2 separate regions of the Homo sapiens genome follow, and region 1 is linked to region 2. The links are contacts of gene promoters, found by promoter capture Hi-C in human tissues and cell types (Jung and others, 2019). All regions are on one chromosome and are shown on one strand. The core of a region is centred on a gene start or on the middle of the fragment in contact, and the rest is flanking DNA. Distances in the headings are between cores, read along the strand shown.

Evidence for each region. Contacts are between HindIII fragments. The study calls those that stand out against the background at their distance.
Region 1: a contact is called between a fragment that was not itself captured here and the fragment with the promoter of ITGA8 in region 2, in 2 of the 25 tissues and cell types used here (aorta and mesendoderm cells).

The regions. Positions count from the first base shown.
Region 1 is chr10:15,798,366-15,801,591 of GRCh38, reverse strand. The region is part of intron 10 of MINDY3 (MINDY lysine 48 deubiquitinase 3); the gene reads left to right. All of the region lies in intron 2 of LOC124902383 (a long non-coding RNA gene), which reads right to left. Among named protein-coding and RNA genes, the nearest start is that of MINDY3, 61 kb to the left of the region's middle. The HindIII fragment of the contact is 6,130 bases long and covers 1-3,226 here.
Region 2 is chr10:15,717,938-15,721,262 of GRCh38, reverse strand. It overlaps ITGA8 (integrin subunit alpha 8), which reads left to right and starts at 1,341. Exons shown (of 30, transcript NM_003638.3): 1 at 1,341-1,700; 2 at 2,364-2,497. The coding sequence starts at 1,492. The HindIII fragment of the contact is 28,165 bases long and covers 1-3,325 here.

The DNA.
Region 1 (3,226 bases), core at 153-2,652, 80 kb before region 2:
AGAGGCTGTATTAGTGATGTTGTGTTTGAGGGCAGTTAACTACTTTGGTGCCTTTGGTGGTGAGCTCATGGGATTCTGGGTGGCCAGGGACATTGTCCAATATCAAAAGAACTTTAAAAGGTGGTCTCTTACTGGCAGGGTACTAGGTAACTTCAGGTACACAGCATTGATAGAACTGATCCAGAGAAAGCATTCTCTTCCAGGCCTTCTTTCTTATACAGCCAAAAGATTGGCAGCTGGTGTTATCTTTTCCCTTCAAAGCTTGGGTTTAGCAGTTTTATAAATAAGGGCAGTCCTGGTCATCACCCTGACTGCATGTGCATAAAACAGTAGCCTTTTCCTTTCTGTCTTAAATCCTAGTGCTTCCTTCTCTTCCTTACTTATAAATGTCCTTTATGGCATTTCCCCCCCATGCCGGAATAGGACACCTTTGTCCACATTAAAAACCTGTTCAGGCAGATATTCTTTCTTCTCAAAGATTTTCTTAATGGTTTCTGAGAACTTAACTGCTGCCTCTTTGTTAGCAGAAGCTGCTTCTCCTGTTACCTTGATATTTTTAAAGCCAAACCAGTTTCTAAAATTATCAAACCATCCTTTGCTGGCATTAAGTTCTCCACCTTTAGCTCCTTTACTTTTGTTTTGCTTTAGCTTGTATAATGACTGCACTTTTTCTTAAATCATATTAGAATCTAAAGGTGTGCCTTTCCTATAGCAACCCTGCACTTACATACAAGTTGCATTTTTTGTACAAGGAGGTATTTTGCAAAAAGCGGAAGGTTTGTATGGCTGCAGCAATGGCTTCAGGAATTTCCTTTTCTTTCTTTACGATATTTATGCTGGATTCATTTATCTTGACATAGTGAGCAACCACAGCAGCAGACCTCAATCCATGGTGCATATCAAGCAATTCCACTTTTTCTTACGTCCTGACTTTGGTTTCTTGGGAGAACTTCCGGCATCACTAGTGGCACTTCATATGGGTTCCATGGTTTTTTTTCAAGAGTTACAGTATTGCACTAAACATGATGAAAAGTATGTGAGAACTGCTTAAGATCACTTTTTACTGTGATGTGGAACTCACTGGAGTGATGGGCTGCACATGCGGAGATGATTAGCGCCATACTTGTGCTCTGAGCAGATACAACACAAGCTCACCACAATAGCATCAGGAGATGGTGATGAAATTATTCCAGTAGTACAGTATGCACTAAAGTTAATTTTATGCTGTTGTGATCTGATACTGCATCTTTACATTCGTTTACATCTCTTGACTGTGAGTGGTGCCAGGTACAGTCCGTATGCCCCTGTTTTGATACATTTTAACTTTTTATAATAGATTTGTGGCATTTCATGGTAGTAGAAAAAATAGACTAGTATCTACATATATTTTATGCATGCATGGCATACTTAATTTTTTCTTAACTTTTGAAAATATCTCTAGGCTGCACAGTTTGCGAGTTTTTCAAATTGTCACAAATTTCCAAGAAAAATTTCTTCCAAGAAAAATTTCCAATATATTTATTGAGAAAAAATTCACATATAAGTGGACCCATGCAGTTCATATCCATGTTGTTTGAGGATCAACTGTACTCGCTTCTTAGTTCTTTGAAGGAATCTGCTTCCATAAGTTTTCAATATTTTCCCTTGCAAGTTCCCCAGCCGTAACCTCAGTCTAACACTAATATTCTATTTCTAATAGCTCACGAGAAGCTCGCAGTTAGCTAACAGTGAGTGTTCGTAGTGTGCCAAGTATTAAGATAACTCCATGTATTCTACTTGGATGTTTAACCATTACCTCCAAACTCTAAAAGTTCGAAAATCAAATTCATTCTTCTGTCAAAGCTCATTTCCCTTCCTAAGTCCTCCTTTTCTGTCACAGTTCTCAGTCCTGTTCACCTTTTTCAGTTTCCCTGTGTGCTATGAAGTCACATCTCCCTGCCTTTCCTGATTCCGTTCCTTCTAGCTAGAATTCTGTGCCCTCTTTTCTATTTCTGCTAATAGCCAAAATATATTCTTTGTAAAATCTGTAAAAGTGATTAAGATGTCTTTACTCCCCCCATATATCAAAAAGTTGGCATGTTTAATAAATGTTAAAGGCTGGTTGCAGTGGCTCAAGCCTGTAATCCCAGCACTTTAGGAACCTGAGGTGGGTGGATCATGAGGTCAGGAGTTCAAGACCAGCCTGGCCAAGATAGTGAAACCCGGTCTCTACTAAAAATACAAAAATTAGCCGGGCATGGTGGTGGATGCCTGTAATCCCAGCTACTAGGGAGGCTGGGGCAGAGATTTGCTTGAACCTGGGAGGTGGAGGTTGCAGTGAGGCAAGATCACACCACTGCACTCCAGCCTGGGCAACAGAGCAAGATTCCATCTAAAAAAAATAAATAAATGTTAGAGCATTTGGGGGAAAAAATATGTAATATATTATCTAAATCATAGGTCAGCAAATGGCCCTCAGGCCAAATAAAGTCACCACCTGCTTCAGTAAAGTTTTATTGGAACATAGCCATGGCCATGTGTTTTGCTGCTAAGACCATATGCCCTGCAAAACATAAAAATTTACTATAAAAATTTACTCTGTGGCCCATTACAGAAAAATGCTTGCCAAACCCTGCTCTAAATGAACACATGTTAACTAGAGTCCACCGAGATTTTTGCCTAAGTTCCAAATGCTCTTTCTATAGCAGGTGAGCTTGTATAGCCTGTTCAGAACCACAGGCAAGAAAGAGATGTGTGGTATACTTTTCATTAAGGTTTACTTTAATTTCTTTCTACGTTGGCATAGTGGTTTTTTGTTTGTTTGTTTGTTTTTGAGACAGAGTCTTGCCCTGTTGCCCAGGCTGGAGTGCAATGGCATGATCTTGGTTCACTGCAACCTCCGCCTCACAGGTTCAAATGATTTTCCTGCCTCAGCCTCCCAAGTAGCTGGGTTAACAGGAGCCTGCCACCACACCCAGCTATTTTTTGTATTTGTAGTAGAGATGGGGTTTCACCATGTTGGCCAGTCTGGTCTCTAACTAAGTCCTGACCTCGTTATCTGCCCACCTTGGCCTCCCAAAGTCCTGGGATTACAGGCGTGACACACCGTGCCCAACCACTAGCAGAGTATTTAAAAAAAAAAAAAAAACACTTGGCACTTAGAGACAAGGCATCAGGTAGTTTACTTTAAATTCTTTTTACACTCCTGAACTGTCAGCTCCTTAATGCCAGAGAATCTGATCTAAAC
Region 2 (3,325 bases), core at 92-2,591:
CCTACTCAAGCCTCACGTCCTCTCCGACACAGGAGACATGGGAAGAGATTGACAACACCCACGGATCAGAACCGAAATCTGAACTCCTGTAGACTGTGAACTACACCTTCTACCCCCGCAGAAAGTAAACTGTAAATTCCAACATTCTTAACTGCGCCAAACTTCATCACAATTACACAGGATGGAGATTTACTACTAAGTCATTTAATATGCCCAAGATGCCTTTAAGAAAGATTTAAATAAAATCTCAAGGGCTGGGCAAGGCGGCTTACCCTGAAATCCCAGCACTGTGGGAGGCTTAGGTGGGAGGATCGCTTGAGTCCAGGAGTTCAAGACCATGTTGAACAACATGGTGAGACCCCCATCTCCTTAAAAAAAAAAAAAAAAAAAAAAAGAAGAAGAAGAAGAAGGAGAAAGAAAGAGAAACAAAGAAAGAAAAGAAATTTTAAAAGTCAACTCGAGGTGGCAGGACGGCTTGAGGCCAGGAGATCGAGACCAGCCTAGGCCACATGAGCAGACTCAGTGTCAACAAAAAAAAATTAGAAAATTAACCAGGTGTGATGTGTCATCTGCAGTACCAGCTAATCAGGAGGCTGAGGCAGGAGGATCGCTCGAGCCCAGGAGTTTGAGATTTCATTGATCTATGATAGCACCATTGCACTCCAGCTTGGGCGAGAGAGAGACCCTATCTCTAAAAAGAAAAAAAAAATAAATAAAACAAAGCAAACCAACCAAACAAACAAAAACAAAAAATTCACACATGCACACACACAGGCGCGCGCGCACACACACACACACACACAGACACCCAACAACAAAAACAAAAAAAAACCCTCGAGGCTTTCTTGTATATGAGTTAGCTCTGCCAGGAGGTGGGGTGGACTTAGGGGAGGAGAGGGTTGTTGCATTTCAACTTTAACTCTCATCACAGACGTGCAAAGCCGTGAACGCTGAGGTCAGGCTGCAGAGGTGATGAAGAGATAATTGCTTTGCCCCTCCTGGTGGTGGGGTTGGTTTTCACATTCTCCATCCAAGCTGCGCCTTTGACACAACTGGAGCAAGCTCTCGCTCCACCTGGGGCATTGCTTCTAAAGCAATAAATAGCTTGAGGTGACAGAGACGAAACTGATTGTCCTTGAGATGGGACTGCAATAGAAATCCGGGCAGCCCGAAGAGGCACCCAGCGCTCCAGCCACCAGCTGGGCCGCCCGGGAGTCCCTGGCTCTAGACCAGCCGCGAGGAGGCGCCGCGAGAGAGCTGGTCCCTGCCCGCGGCCGGAGGAGGGCTAGAGCCCCTGGGCCAGCCCCCCGAGCCGGCTGGGCGGGCGGGCGGGTGGGAGCAGACGCCGGGCACTGTCACCACGGGTGCGCCGAGCGCACCGACCCGGGACACGGGCAGCTGGGGACCGCCAGATTCCACCAGCCCCCCTTGCCCCGCAGGGGTCCTCGGCTCGCGCTCCTGGGTAGCAGCCACCCACCGGGGCGGAGGGAGATGTCGCCCGGGGCCAGCCGCGGTCCCCGGGGAAGCCAGGCGCCGCTGATCGCGCCCCTCTGCTGCGCCGCGGCCGCGCTGGGGATGTTGCTGTGGTCCCCCGCCTGTCAGGCGTTCAACCTGGACGTGGAAAAGCTCACAGTGTACAGCGGCCCCAAGGGCAGCTACTTCGGCTACGCCGTGGACTTCCACATACCCGACGCCCGCACGTAAGTCGCCCGACCCGGGGAGGTGCGCGCGGGGACGAAGGCGCTCCCGGGTCAGGTCCCAGCGGCTCTGCCGCGGAGTCCCCCCGCAGCCTGGGATCCCCGTCCTGCCGCCTGCCCGGGGTCCCGTCCCTCTCCCCGCCACCAGCCCCTTCTCTCCCCTGCCATGCTAGATGTGCCTTGTGAATTTTGAGCTAGAGACATGCCACTTGCATAGAACACGCAAGTCCTGGGTGTTCCAGGTACCAAGACGCACGCATCCTACAAAGGAGAGAACAGGACCCAGAAGACCCAAGCCAGTTAAAACCGCCACCACAGCGAGGTCTGTTTATGCAGAGTCTGTAACCATTGCGTCTGGGCGCAAGAGCTGTCGGCTACCAGCAGCTGGGCTCTGTCCTTGGCTTCCTCCTACCCCACCCCCTTCTCTCATCTCACTGTACCCACAGAGCTCCACCTAGAGAAGCAGGACCGTTTGCATTCTTGCAAACCAGGTTGCGGACCCCCGTTTCCAAGAGGAAATCAAGTTTGACAGTCGGTCCTCATCATAAATACGTTCATGCCCTCCACGCCTGCCCCAGTGTCCCCGGGCAGGAGGTTACAGAGACTGCATTGCATGCGCACGGTTTTGTGGCGCCCAAAGAGTGACTTTCTCCAACTCTTTTGCAGAGCGAGTGTCTTGGTGGGGGCGCCCAAAGCCAACACCAGCCAGCCCGATATCGTGGAAGGGGGAGCCGTCTATTACTGTCCTTGGCCCGCGGAGGGGTCTGCGCAGTGCAGGCAGATACCGTTTGACACCACCAGTAAGTGAGATTTGTCCTTCTAAGCTGTGGGCCTGGGTTTGGAAGAACCAGGGCCATCCCAGAGGCGACTTCCCGCTGTCTTGGTGTGCTGCTCGTTTAGCTTGTCTGATATGTCCGTATTGTGGGCTATGTGGGTCTCTAGAGAAATCAGTTTTTTCAACTCTCAGTTAACTGAAGGAAGACGTTTAGTGAACCCTAGAGAAAGGACACTATTTTGACCCTGAGTGTTCGGATGCATCCTGGCAACTCCTGTTTCTTTACCTTTCTGAGATGAGCATTTTCAGGGTGAGTGGATGTTTTGGAGAAATACAAAAACTATGTCCTAACTTTGACTGTGGAGAGAATTTGGTTGCTTCTCAAGGACAGATCTGGAAAAAGAGAGATCCTTAGCGTTTCCAGTGCCCAAGCTCGGGAGGCAGGACTTAGCTGCTGCAGACCCAGACATCACTCCGCGTTGCTGTTTAATTCTTTACAGAAAGAAAGAATTTTCTTTCAAAGTATTAGACATTGAATGCAAACTAGTGCAGGCAGAGTGTGGATGGATTACATTCATTTCCAAAATCCCTAGACAGATGTTTCTTATTTAATTAAAGGGAAAATACATTTTAAACAATTCAGTCTGGTTACGTTTCCTCTGGTGTTTTCTCTTTAGAGCCTGAGAAAATAATTTAAATGCGATGCTTTCAAAAACATTAACACCGAATGCTTTAATTTTTACCACCAAAACTTTATGAATTCAAAAGGTATATATTATCAGAAAGCAAATATCTCTTTCCAGAAAAATGCGAATATGTCAGCTTGAACAATGGTCCTTGATAAATAATCGTT